Regions from separate parts of the Homo sapiens genome. Here region 2 is linked to region 1. The links are contacts of gene promoters, found by promoter capture Hi-C in blood cells and fetal thymus (Javierre and others, 2016). All regions are on one chromosome and are shown on one strand. The core of a region is centred on a gene start or on the middle of the fragment in contact, and the rest is flanking DNA. Distances in the headings are between cores, read along the strand shown.

Region 1 (6,793 bases), core at 1,269-3,768:
TTTTTTTTTTTTTTTTTTGAGACAGGGTTTCGCTCTGTCATCCAGGCTGGAGTGCTGTGGCACGGTCATAGCTCACTGCAGCCTCAAACTCCTGGGCTTAAGTGATCCTCTTGTCTCAGCCTAACTCAAAGTAGTTAGGACTACAGGTGTGTGCCACCACACCCGGCTCCTTCCAATTTTTTATTGATAACTTTTACTTCCCATGTCACACAGTCACTATTATTTCTCTTTCTGGTGTTTGCAGAGATCCCCTTCTATTTTCTCCCTTGTATGCCAAGTATCTTTCGACACTTCTTTTTAGTCACAAACACCTTTACATTGCTTATCATCTTCCTTCTTACTCATTTGGGTCACCTTTTCCCATAAGCTCAAATAATCTTAAAACAAATCCAATTTGGAATCTGTTACTGAAGAATTCTAGCTGATAAAAGTGTTTTGGATCTCTTTCTCTGGGAGCCTTGAGAAATAAAGTTAAAGGTCATTTCTTTAATTGTACATGCAGACAATAGTTTTTATAGCATTTGAAAAGTATACCTATTAATAAACTTTAGGATAATAAAAACTTAGACAAAATCTAACCAAAATGACATACAATGTTAAGTATGGGAAGGGTCTTTAAACAACACTGTCTCATCTATGGCAAGGTTCTATGGTCTGACTGTAATGCCTATTGAGAAGCCCTTGTCTATTTGGTTTTCTTTATACTTGGGGAGAAAAAAGACAAAAAGGGAAACAAGAAAACCAGCAATGTTCAACAACCTTCCAGGCTATTTCCAAGAACAATCTTTGTACCTCACAACATCTCCACCTAGTGACTCCTTAAGGATCTTACAGCCATTCCTAGAAATTACTTGTTTTAAATTGCCACTAATATGCCTAACCTCATTTCAGATAATTTAACCTTAAACACATGTATTTAGAATTAATTACTAGGAATTGAGAAGGTACCGACATGAAAATGAAGAATGAGGAGAATCTTTTTCTGGAGAAATAAAAGAGCAGCAAAAAATAGTAATCAATATAACAATCACAGTTCCCGAGGTACAGAATTGGTGACATGTCAAACAAAGCCAACTAGATCTATCAGTCTAGGTTTTCTAGTTGCTTTATTTTGAATGCATACATCTTATATAAAATGACACTTGTATTCATTGACTAAAGGGCAGACGGCTTACAAAAAATATTTGTTGAGCTTCCAGTGTGCATCAAGTACTATGCCAAGTTTTCTACTTGTTTCTGGACGTATTTTGAGACAGTATAGTATAGCAATTATGTCTGTAGGTTTCAAACTGGAGCCACTTACTTGCTATATGACTTTGCCCAAACTACTTAAGGTTTCTGCATCTGTTTCCCCGTCTGCAAAGTAGGGCTAGTAACTTTACCAAAGTTACTGTGAGAATTAAATGAAAATATGAAAAGTCCTTAGGATTGTTTCTGGCATCTGGCTCAATATTTGGTAATATCATATATTATTTTATTCTCACAATCCCCACTTTAAACAGGGTCTGTCTGGCTCCAAAGTCCCTGCTAATTCCTCACTGTTGTAGTATATTTAAAAATTAAAAATATACTTTAACAAAATTTAAATTGGTAGACATTCATTAGTTCCTTGAATATATGGAGAAAATACATTAGGAGTTAATGTGGAAGAAATCACCTTGAGGTTGGGAATAAGGAGATCTGTGTTACTCGGTGAATATTCTGGGCATGAAGTTCCTTGTTAATTAGAGAATCAACATGAGCTAGGTTCTTTATTGTCTAATATTCCATGAATCTAATATTATCTATACATAAATAGTTGGTTCCTAAAGGTGGTTTTTTCTTTCCTTGTCTGCATTTAATTTCGAGCTGTCTTCAAAGGAAGCAAAACTGAAGTTATGCATACCGAATGCCAAACAACCCTATCTGTGAAAGTTGGTTTTACAAGAGCATAGAACCCAGTTCGGCAGTTCGCCTCTGCCAAATGTCCCTGCAAGCTGATTAGTGGTAGCGTCAAGCCTATCGCTAGTTCTCCTCATCTAACCCATTTTCTTAGTCATTGTCATTTAAACCACTTATACTTTATACTTCTAGTCCTATTTGCAAATCCATCTTTTAGCTTTATAACCCACCTCCCCCTAGCCCTTAATTTCAAAGGTCCACCGGATATATGTGGTTGTTTTGCGCCAAACTAGCAGTTTACAAGAAAACTACATCAAACAAGAAAAAGAACCATTACGATGCATCTATGTTTTCCCTTAAGTGCGGAATTTCACACTGCAGCCCTCGTCTTCAAACACCTAAACAATGCACCTAGGACCTTCATTTATTATTCCGTGCCCACCCACACCCTAAAAATCGCTCTCTTCACCCCAATTGCTCGAAATGCCTGTCACTCCAAGCACTTTGACTAGCCCAAGAGCCTCATTTAAACTTTAGCCCCACTCTCTCCTCCTCGCCCCGCCCCGAAGCTAATCCCTGATTGGATGAGGCACCACTCCTCGTGGGGCTGCTTAGGCCACCGCGCGCGCTGCGCGCTGGGAAACGAGTGGAGACACGAGGACCAGCGCGAGCGGTCCCGGTGGGCTACCCTCCCCCTGCGACGACCCCCCCTCGCTCTGACCGACTGGTCCCCTAAACGGTGGCGGCGGTTTTTGGTCGTTGGGCCCCGGGATTTAGGACCAACATTTGAAGACCCGAAGGGGTGAGGAGGGGAAAGGGGAAACGGGGTCACTACCAGACCACTGCTAACGGCTGGATAGTGCCCGGCTCACTCTCACGCCGAATACACAGTGGGGGCTGGCGGCGGTGGCTGCGGGGTTCACCCTCGTCCTTCCCCAGCCCCGTCGAGCAGTGGGAGGGCAAGTGTCCGAGACGCTGCTTCCTGCCCCGGCAGCATCCGGCCAGAAGGCGCCCTCGCCGTCACCCAGGCGCTGCATGGTGAGGGCCCAGCGGCCAGTCTCTTTGGGGCGTCTGGCGGCCTCTTCCGCCCCGCGGCGCCCTGCGCTCTCCGCCTTATTTCCGCTCTCCCCCGCTGCCTTCCGGCCGCTTCCCACCTGTGCTGCATTTCGTGTTATTTTCCTGACACGCTTACGCCGACGACCAACGACCGCTGCAGGCCCGGGCCGCTGCCTGGCCGTTGTAGGGTCCGCGCGTCCCCTGGAGGCTTTGGACGCCGTCTGGGGCGTCCCGACGGCTGGGTGAGATTCAGCAGTCTGGTTTCAGAATTGAATTCAGGCTGGGTGAGCTTTAGCGGGCTCCTAGTCGTTTGCGTGGAGTTCTAGCCGGGACTGAGCCTCGAACTTTACTTTGCCTTTGTCTCCCTGTTTCTTCCCCGAGTACCTCGTGTGTGCTGGGCTGTGGGCAGTGGGAGGCCGCGGGTGCACAGGGAAGATAGCTCGCCTCTCCCCCGACACACGGACGGCAGCACACGTCGTGGCACCGCCTTTGTTTCCTAACATCTGGTAGTTTTTAAACCCCTAATTTAAAAATGTTTCTTTGGAGCTGCTGGAAAAACCACAGAACCAGCGGCATTTAATCCTGGCGTTGATATTCTGAGATATTGCGAAGCTGCTTGATTTATTTGGGCACCAGTTTTCTCCTATGTAAATTTAGCTTAGGTAATATTTAAGTTCTTTAAGCTTTAACTGTCTTTACATTCTTGATAAATTCCCCGTAACCTTTATGTTATGTGGTAATCCTAATATAGGCAAATATCAAAGAGGAAATATCATAAGGAGTTTTTTTGTTTTGTTTTTTGTTTTGTTTTGAGACGGAGTCTCGCTCTGTCTCCCAGGCGGGAGAGCAGTGGCAGGATCTCGGCTGACTGCAACTTCCGCCTACCGGGTTCAAGCGATTCTCCTGCCTCAAACTCTCGGGAGTAGCTGGGACTACAGGCGCGCGCCACCACGCACAGCTGATTTTTGTATTAGTAGAGACAGGGTTTCACCATGTTGGCCAGGATGGTCTCGATCTCTGGACCTCATGATCCACCCGCTTCGGCCTCCCCAAGTGCTGGGATTACAGGCGTGAGCCATCGCCGCCGAGCTTTTTAAGTCTTGGCTTCTCTTAAAAATTGGCCTGATTTTGTGTTTGAGAATGGCGTTATAACCAGGAAGCAGGATATGTTGCGTGTATAAGGAGAATAACATATAAAGGACATGTTCAAGGGTCTGTAGAATTTTGCTTATTTAAATAATGGGAAGATATTTTCGTTTCAAGAATCACCACGATGTATATACAGTTTGACAGACTTCCATTTGGATCTTTTCAGAATTGAATCTCCTTATGGGGGTCTAATAATAGACTTGTTTTCAGGGCACACGTTTAAAACATTCTACTTTAAACTTTGTTTGCATCTGTCTGCATTTGTTTGCATTGTTAATAAAATTTGTTTGCATCTTTATAGACATAAAGATGACAGTGCTGCCTGCAATCACTAAATATTAATGCTTTCTGCTTAAGGCACTGCTTTGATTGCTGATTTTCACTTAAGAGGTTGGAGTAATGTACTTGAATATTATTGCCAAATATAATACATATCAACACTTAAAATATATGCATTACTGGATATATTATGAAACAAGAATTATTAATAACGAGAACAAACCCAGTTTATGGACTGAAATTAAGTCTCAGGTTTAATGGTGTTATTTTATTGTTAGGAGAAGGAAGACATGTCAGTTTAAGTAGAGTTTGTGACTACAAATCAAGTAATTGCTGTAAAAATTGTCCAGATTTGCATATTAATGCCGAATGTTATTTCTCATTTTACTACCCGATGATTGATGAGGCAAGAAAATGTGATCTCTATGTTCAAATTGGTAACAGATTTAAAATAACAGATTATGAAGGACCTTGTGTAAGGAATGGTGTACTTAATTTGGACAAGAATATGTAGATATCTTTATCCTGAATTCAAACAGCATATACACCTTTGTGTTCAAAGCAGTATTTTTTAAAAGTATTAGTTACAGTTTTTTTAAATAGTTCAATTTTTAAGTCATTCAGAATTTAAACTTAATATTAAAACTTTTATCCATTATATATTTAACTTCTAGCAATAAAATGTGCTCTCATTCTTTAATAAAAACAACTTAAAATGGAATTGAACTGATCCATCTGTACACTTATTTCGAAATAATTTTAGACTTCCATGTCCACACACTTTTGATTAACTCTTCTCGTTTTCCAAGAACGAGAAGTGTAGTGGCTGTAGTGCAGTCTGTCACTAAAATGAATTGCTGCTTAAAAACAAACAGAAAACCTCCATTGACCTGGCAACCATTGACCTGGCAACCATGGTTTCCATGTACCATACTCAATGACAACAGTGCTAACAAATCAGGAGTTTAGTACCATGTAATTCAAGAAATGTCATAAACATTTAATGTGCCCCTATAAAGGCACGCTTTGATATTCTTAATTTTTTTCATTATTACATTGAGTTTTTAAAACCCACAGTAAGATTATATAATGTTCTCTTTCACAGCTTTCTAAATTTTTACAGTAACTTGGAAGATGAAGTTTCAGTTGAAGTAGTTTTAATACAGCTGACACAGTTCCTTTAAATAATTTTCATTAATGTTTTGCTTAAATTGTGCTTGTCTTTTTTCATTAATATACTTTCTATTTTTGAATGGCAGTACAAATTTGAAAATACATATTTTTGATAATTGTTAAGAAGGTTAAAATTAAAGGAGATATAGTTAGCACTTAAAGATAAAGGCTTGATTCACATTGTTACTTGAATAGCTTGTGATTTGCTATCCTGTCTTGGCCTTTTGCTTCATACCTTAGAGAGGTTTTTTCCTTCTATTTTTTCTTTTGAAAGTGAGCTAGAGAGGAATCTTTGAAAGTCTACAGTTTAGGGAAAAAAATACATATCTGAAAGCTAGAGTTAAATATGGCACAACTTTTAATTTCTCATTCCCACTTTGTCTGCAAAACCATTTTTGACATTCTACTCAGGATCCCTCCTTCTCTTACTTGGATTACTTGGGTCAGCAGGGTAAGGAAATAAGTTTTTAGAACGCTTTGTAGTGTGACTTCACACCTGAAAGTGGCAGAGGACAAATTAAGTCTGGAAGCCTCAATTGGTATGTCAGTTTTGCTTTAATGTATAGGACAGATGTGCTTTCTTGGATATTTAGGTAACAGGTTGATTCTGGAGTATTTTAGAATGAATGTATTGTATGCTTGTTTTAGATTTGATTATATTTCTCTGGCTATTCTTGAATTTTGCCTCTTTTAGAAATAAACTTTTGTTAAATTAATATGTTAAAGTTAGGTAATTTTGAACTTTCTTGTGAATTATACACGTGCATATATTTTGTTTTGGAGGCTTTGAGATAAGGGTTTTTTTTTCTAAAGAGAATATAGGATTGGTGACTCTTCAGTGTGTCTTTTACTTCTGTAATTTCAAGCTTTCATAATATTTTGATTGAGATTTCTTGAGATGTACAAAGTCTAGCATATGTTTCTAGTCATTATCTAGTAAAAGGAGCCTTTAATGTGTATGGACTGGCATGTTATTTCATTGTAAGAACCTAAATAATCTCTTTAAAAATAGAACTTTAGAGACATGAATTAACCCAAAAAATAGGTCTGTAAGGTAATTGTAGAGATGGGTTGGATTGCAGAAATCAGCCATTTGGAGCTAGCTGTGAATTGTAGTTAAAAAAAAAAAAAGTCTTGTTTATTAAGTTAAATTCTACATTTTGGATAAAACGGGAGCATATTTATTATTTCTATAACCAGTAAGTAGCATATGTAAGGTACCATATTAAGATTGGTGCAAAAGTAATCACAGTTT
Region 2 (6,472 bases), core at 2,732-5,231, 220 kb before region 1:
GTGTGTGTGTGAGAGAGAGAGAGAGAGTCCTCGGGTCTTACTTATCACAATTTCACCATCCTCTACTACATGAAGCCCCATCTCATGTGTATTAGTTTGCTAGGGCTGATGTAACAAAGTACCACAAACTGGATGGCTTAGACAACAAATGTTTATTGTCTCACAGTTCTGGAGGCAAGAGGCTTGAAATAAAGGCGTTGGCAAAGTTGGTTCCTTCTAAGGGCTGTGAGAGAGAATGTGTTCTATGCCTCTCCCCTAACTTCCAGTAGTTCTCTGGCAGTCTTTGCCGTTTCTTGTCTTCTGCTGCATCACTGTCATGTCTGCCTTCATCTTCACATTTCGTTCTCACTGTGCATATGCCTATGCCAAATTTCTCCTTCTTAAAGAACATCAATCATATTGAATTAAAGGCCCACCCTACTCCAGTATGGCTTCATCTTAACTAATTCCATCCAAAAATACCCTATTTCCAAATAAGGTCACATTCTTAGATACTGGGGGTTAGGAATTCATAATGTGAATTTGGGGGGACACAGTTCAACCCACAACACTATATCACAAAATAAGTGACAATATTGAACATAATCATGACTTTTGTTGTTTACCTTTACAAATAAGAATTTGTACTTACAAATATTTGCAGGCATTTACAAATGTTTTTATTTTACAGAAATATTTTTGGTGTTTATACTGCCACAGAAGAAATAACAATGTCTTGGTTCCAGCTTTCTTAGCTGAATGTTTTGTTGTAATATTTGTTTAAATATCTGTATTTCCCAGTAGACTTATGGGGTGAATATGGCATGATGTTTACTATCACACAGTCAGAATCTAATTGACTTGCAACTGGTAAGTTTTCAATATTTATTGAATGAATGAATAAGTAAGCTATTATATTGTACACTTAAATATGGGTTTAGGTGGCTTTGAGAGCTTAATTTTTTTTGAGACGGAGTCTGGCTCTGCCGGCCAGGTTGAAGTGCAGTGGCACCATCTCAGCTCACTGCAATCTCTGCCTCCTGGATTCAAATGATTCTCCTGCCTCAGCCTCCGGAGTAGCTGGGAATACAGGTGTGCACCACCACGCCTGGCTAATTACTTGTATTTTTAGTAGACATGGGGTTTTACCATGTTGGCCAGGCTAGTCTCGCACTCCCGACCTTAGGTGATCCACCTGTCTCAGCCTCTCAAAGTGCTGGGATTACAGGTGTGAACCACTGAGCCCAGCCGAGACTTTAATTTTGATTTGGAGTTGCAGCTACTGAACATGTAGGAAGGATGGTCTGTGAGTGTGTGTGTGTGTGTGTGTGTGTGTGTGTGTGATGTGCTCACTCCGAAAAGTTGCTATTTCAGTAACCATTAATTTAATCACAGTCTTTCTGTGTGTGTAATGCAGATAATTGCTTATAAAAGGACTGTTCAGTTCTGTATTTCTGATCTTTGTAAATTTTATGACAATGAAAAATATTTTCCATTACATTTAAGTAAGTTAATTCTAAATTTTATTTAGTTTCTATAAAACTTAGCAACTTAGTTACAAAATACAATTTATCTGTAGAAATATTTGCAACAGTCAGTTTAGTTAGCAGAAATACCTTTTGACATGAATAATTAAGAAGAGTAAGGCATTTGATTGAATATTTTACTATTATTATTAATTCATATTTATAGATCCCATTATATTTATATTACATAATGCTATTTAGACACTTCAGGCTTTCTTTTAGAAATATGCTACCAAAAGCCAGAATCATGTTCACAGAGAAATATTAAAAATATTCTTATTAGTCACAATACAAGGATGTCCACCATCACCACTATTATCCACGTGTATTTTTTATGAAAGCACTAGTCATTCAATTGGACAAAAAAATTAAATTGTGTAAAATAGGAAATAGGGATGAAAAGTTATCTTTATTTGCAAACGGTATGACTTTCTACCTGAAAAACCAATTGAAAAAACTATTCGAAACAATATGAAAATTCACTGAGTATAAAAATGTTATTAAAAATCAATAGTTTTCCTTTATGCAGTTAAAAATACAGCAGGGAAAGGGATTTTTATTTAAAATAGCAATAAATTTTAAAATGTGCAAGACCTAAAGGAAAAAAAAATTAAGAGACGTGAAAACCTGAATCAGGGACCTCCCTCCTCTCTGTGCATGTGGCCTCACTACTGCTGCTTCTGGAGGGACTGAAAAATCCCTGAGACCAGCATCTCAGGGATGCTGGTCTGGCAGTCAGAGAGGTCTCTGAGCTGACAGGATTTCCTGAAATGCTGTGAAAATTTTGCATCCTGAAATCCATGCTGGAATCCTGGCTCATAATATCCCAAAAGGTAATGCTGACATGGCCAGGCCTGATTGTTGCCTGTAATCTCTATCCCTTCCTGAAGACAGTGGCTTCTCCAGGTGTAATGGTTGAGAGGCTGTTGAGCAAATTGGTACTGGTAGAGTAACTTTACTGAGAGATGCCACCAAAAACCACAATCCAGTGACAGTGGTGTGTCAGAGGACTATGAGGCAGTGTCCACAGACAGGCAGAGCTCCAAGAGTAAGGACACCTTCTTGGAGACTAGGTGCCAGTTAGTCTTGAAGGCATTCACATTCACTTATATGGCACAATATGATGAAGCAATTTCAGATTACCTCAGGAAATAGCACAGTAAAGGAATATCTCAGATGCCCTTGCAGTACAGAATGATCCCTCATCAGACTCCTGTGCAGCTATACACACTGAAGCCTAAGCTTCCCATCACAGTTCTAAATGGAGCCCCTGGATTTAAAAACTTTTGTGATGCTTTGAATGCCTGGCAGCTGGTGAAGGAACTCAAAGAGGCATTAGGCATTCTATCTGCTGCCCTTTTCAAACATGTCAGCCCAGCAGATGCTGCTGTTGAAATTCCACTCAGTGAAAATGAGGCCAAAGTCTGCATATATCATAAGCAAAGTTAAAAGACAAATGAAAAATTGGGAAATATAGGCAATGTGTATGTTAGCCACAGGGCTAATTTTCTTAATAAGAAAAGAGCTCTCATGAATCAACAGAAAAAATGAACAACTCAAAAGACAAGGCACATGGACAGGCAGTTCACAGAAAGACCACTGACATTGTGGCTGATATGTAAATTGAAAAGATTCTCAGTGTGCTCATGATGAAAGAAATTTTAATCACAATAACAATAAGATAACATATTTCACCTAATAGGTTGGCAAAAAATTTTAAAATTTGACAACAACAAGTGATGACAAGGATGAGGGACAACCTAAATATTGATGAGAGTATAAATGGTGGCAATCACTTTCATAGGCAGTTTAGCAATAAGCTGACAATTTTTTTCGAGACAGGGTCTTTCTCTGTGGCCCAGGCTAGACTTCAGTGGATGACCTCCTGGGGTCAGGCAGATCCTCCTACCTCAGCCTCCCAAATAGCTGGAACTACAGGTGTGCACTATGATGCCTGGCTAATTTTTTAATTTTTTTGTAGAGACAGGTGTCTCACTATGTTGCCTAGGCTGCTCTCGAACTCCTAGGCTCAAGCACCCTTCCTGCCTTGGCCTCCCAAAGTGCAGGGATTACAGGTGTGAGCCACCACTCCTGGCCCCAAAATTGTTTGCATACCTTTTGTTACAATGGATTTACTTTCCAAAAATGTCCTTGGTATGTATGTATGTGTGTTTGTGTGTTTGTGTGAGAGTGTGTATGTCTGTATGAATGTATGTATGTATTATATATAATCTTCATAGAAGGATGCAAAGATATACATACACAGGTGTTCATTTTGCTAAGGTAGGAACACCACATCAATACAAGAGAAAAAATAGCTTTGTACATAACAGGAAGAAACTGTCCATCATAGTAGGTAAGGGTATAGAGTCAGAATGCCATGATTCAACTCCTTCTCTGCAAGTTACCTGCAGCATCATCTTGGGTAACTTTCTTCTTTTTGTACTTCAATTCTCCCATCTGTAAAATGGGAATAATAGTACTACTCTACCTCATAGAGTTATTGTAAGAATTAAGTGTAACGTACTAGTAACAGTGACCGGCACAGAATTACTTGATCCATAAACATTAGTTATATGATACTAATTATCCCCGTTGTTCTAAAAGGGGAGAAAGCTGCATAAATGTAACCTAGAAGTCAGAGGTCAACACAGGCAGCTTCTATTTTCATCCTAAACTAAACCTAAAGTGGGCCTCGATTCTCCCCACAAGGAAACCTAGTACACAAAATACTAGTTAGCACATATATTAGTCTGTTCTCACACTACTGATAAATACATACCAAGAGTAGATAATTTATAAAGGGAAGAAGTTTAATTGACTCACAGTTCTGCAGAGCTGGGAAGGCCTCAGGAAACTTACAATCAAGGCAGAAGGGGAAGCAAATATGCCCTTCTTCACATGACAGCAGGAAGGAGAAGTGCGGAATGAAACAGGGAAATCCCTTTATAAAACCATTCAATCTTGTGAGAACTCACTCACTATCACAAGAACAGTATGAGGGTAACTGCACCCATGATTCAATTACCTCCCAACAGGTCCCTCCCACAACATATGAGGATTATGGGAACTAGAATTCAAGGTGAGATTTGGGTGGGGACACAGCCAAACCATATCAGCAAAGTAGATTGAAACATTGAGCAAATAACAAAGGATTGAAGGGAGATCCTGGACCCAATAGCATACTTTGTCCATCCTCATTCAACTTGCGTCTTTTTCTTAGTTTGTCGTTACCTCTTTATTATGTGGAGAGGATAGAGATTTTTCTGCCCACGTCTCCCCCTTCCCTAACATTGTATCCGTGTTTCTAGAAACCAGCCTTTCTGGCTTTCTTTGATTTATATCTAGGTTCCATATTTTTTCAAGTACATGTTTGTGTTTTTTAAAATATATATATGGATATACATACATGTATATATATCTTTTGCCCATTTTTATCTATAGGGCTCATGCTTTCTCATCAAACTGTAACTCTTCATAAAAATTTTATTAAACCTTTGTCTAATCCTGTGCACATTTTACAGAAAATATTGTTAATCTAATTCAAGTAATACTTATTAGTTATTAAATTGTGAAAGATTTTTGAAATTTTTGAAATGCATGTTACTGACATGCACCAAAATAAAAGTCCTCATTTTCCCTAGAGTTTCACTGCTAATACTATCAGACTGGCTGTCTTATTTTTAAGCATAAATTCCATGTTGGAAAGAGAAGCTTTATATTCAAATAATGTAATCCATCACTAAAGGTTTTCATATATTATGTATATGGGCGGGGCATGGTGGCTCACAGCTGTAATTCCAGCACTTTGGGAGGCCAAGGCTGGTGGATCACTTGATGCCAGGAGTTCCAGACCAGCCTGGGCAACATGGTGAAACCCTATCTCTACAAAAAAATACATATATACATACATATATACATATATATATATATATATATAGAGAGAGAGAGAGAGAGAGAGATGGAGAGAGACAGAGAGAGACAGACAGGGTCTTGCTTTGTCACCAAGGCTGGTGTATAGTGGTGCAATCTCAGCTCATTGCAGCCTCAACCTCCCAGGCCCAAGCAATCCTCCCACCTCTCAGCCTCCCAAGTAGCTGGAGTGGCTGAGACTACAGGTGTGTGCCACCATGCCCAGATAATTTTTTCATTTTTTGTATAGATAGGGTTTCACCACGTTGCCCAAGGTGGTCTCGAACTCCTGGGCTCAAGTGATCCTTGGCCTCCCAAAGTGCTGGAATTACAGCTGTGAGCCACTGCGCCCAGCCCATATGCTTAATATATGAAAACTTTTAGTGATTGATTACATTATTTGAATATAAAGCTTCTCTTTCTAACCTGCAATTTATGCTTAAAAATAAGACAGCCAGTCTGATTCCTAAAAATTTGATCTTAATTTTCTCAACAAATGCCAAAAATCATCTCAGTCAAAGTTAATGAAAGGTAAAATGAGTACTATAGAAAGGACATCAGGTGTCTCACAGACTGGGCTGTGAAGAATCAAATTATTATGTTTGGACGTTTTGGTTACTTCTGTTGATGCAGTTGGTAGGCTTTCCCTCTAAAATGCTGCCATGGATATAACATCAGTCCAATTGACCCAGTTCCCTTCCCCTTCCCCTTCCCCTTCCCCTTCTTCTTCTCCTCCTCCTCCTCCTTCTTCTTCCAGCAAATATCAAATTTGGAGAGACAATCTGGTAGATTTAGCTTGCGTAAAGGGTCTGTCTACCCCTAGCTTGGTCACCTGTGGTTAGAGGGTCAGGGTGTTGTAGTACTGACAGGACCACTGGAGCTTCATACCTCCATTTTAGGGGTCATTCCAGGAGAAGGGAGCAGCACTCCCAGAGGTGTTCATTACACCCTTAATGGTTGTGGGTCTCAATGTGACAAAAGCAGAAGAGCATCTCTATCTTTTCTTAGCTCTTGTGATCTCCATCCTGTTGTAGGAGAAAATGTCCTATTATCCC

What was found. The method cuts DNA at HindIII sites, captures the fragments that hold promoters and counts their contacts. A CHiCAGO score of 5 or more calls a contact.
Region 2: a contact is called between a fragment that was not itself captured here and the fragment with the promoter of RBM46 in region 1, in 2 of 17 cell types (megakaryocytes and endothelial precursors). The highest score is 9.3, in megakaryocytes.

What each region holds. Positions count from the first base shown.
Region 1 is chr4:154,778,754-154,785,546 of GRCh38, forward strand. RBM46 (RNA binding motif protein 46) reads left to right here and starts at 2,519. Exons shown (of 5, transcript NM_144979.5): 1 at 2,519-2,683. It overlaps LOC105377500 (a long non-coding RNA gene), which reads right to left and starts at 3,120. Exons shown (of 4, transcript NR_188451.1): 1 at 3,036-3,120. The HindIII fragment of the contact is 3,692 bases long and covers 1-3,618 here.
Region 2 is chr4:154,553,056-154,559,527 of GRCh38, forward strand. It overlaps the pseudogene LOC100422640. Among named protein-coding and RNA genes, the nearest start is that of PLRG1, 5.9 kb to the left of the region's middle. The HindIII fragment of the contact is 2,472 bases long and covers 2,746-5,217 here.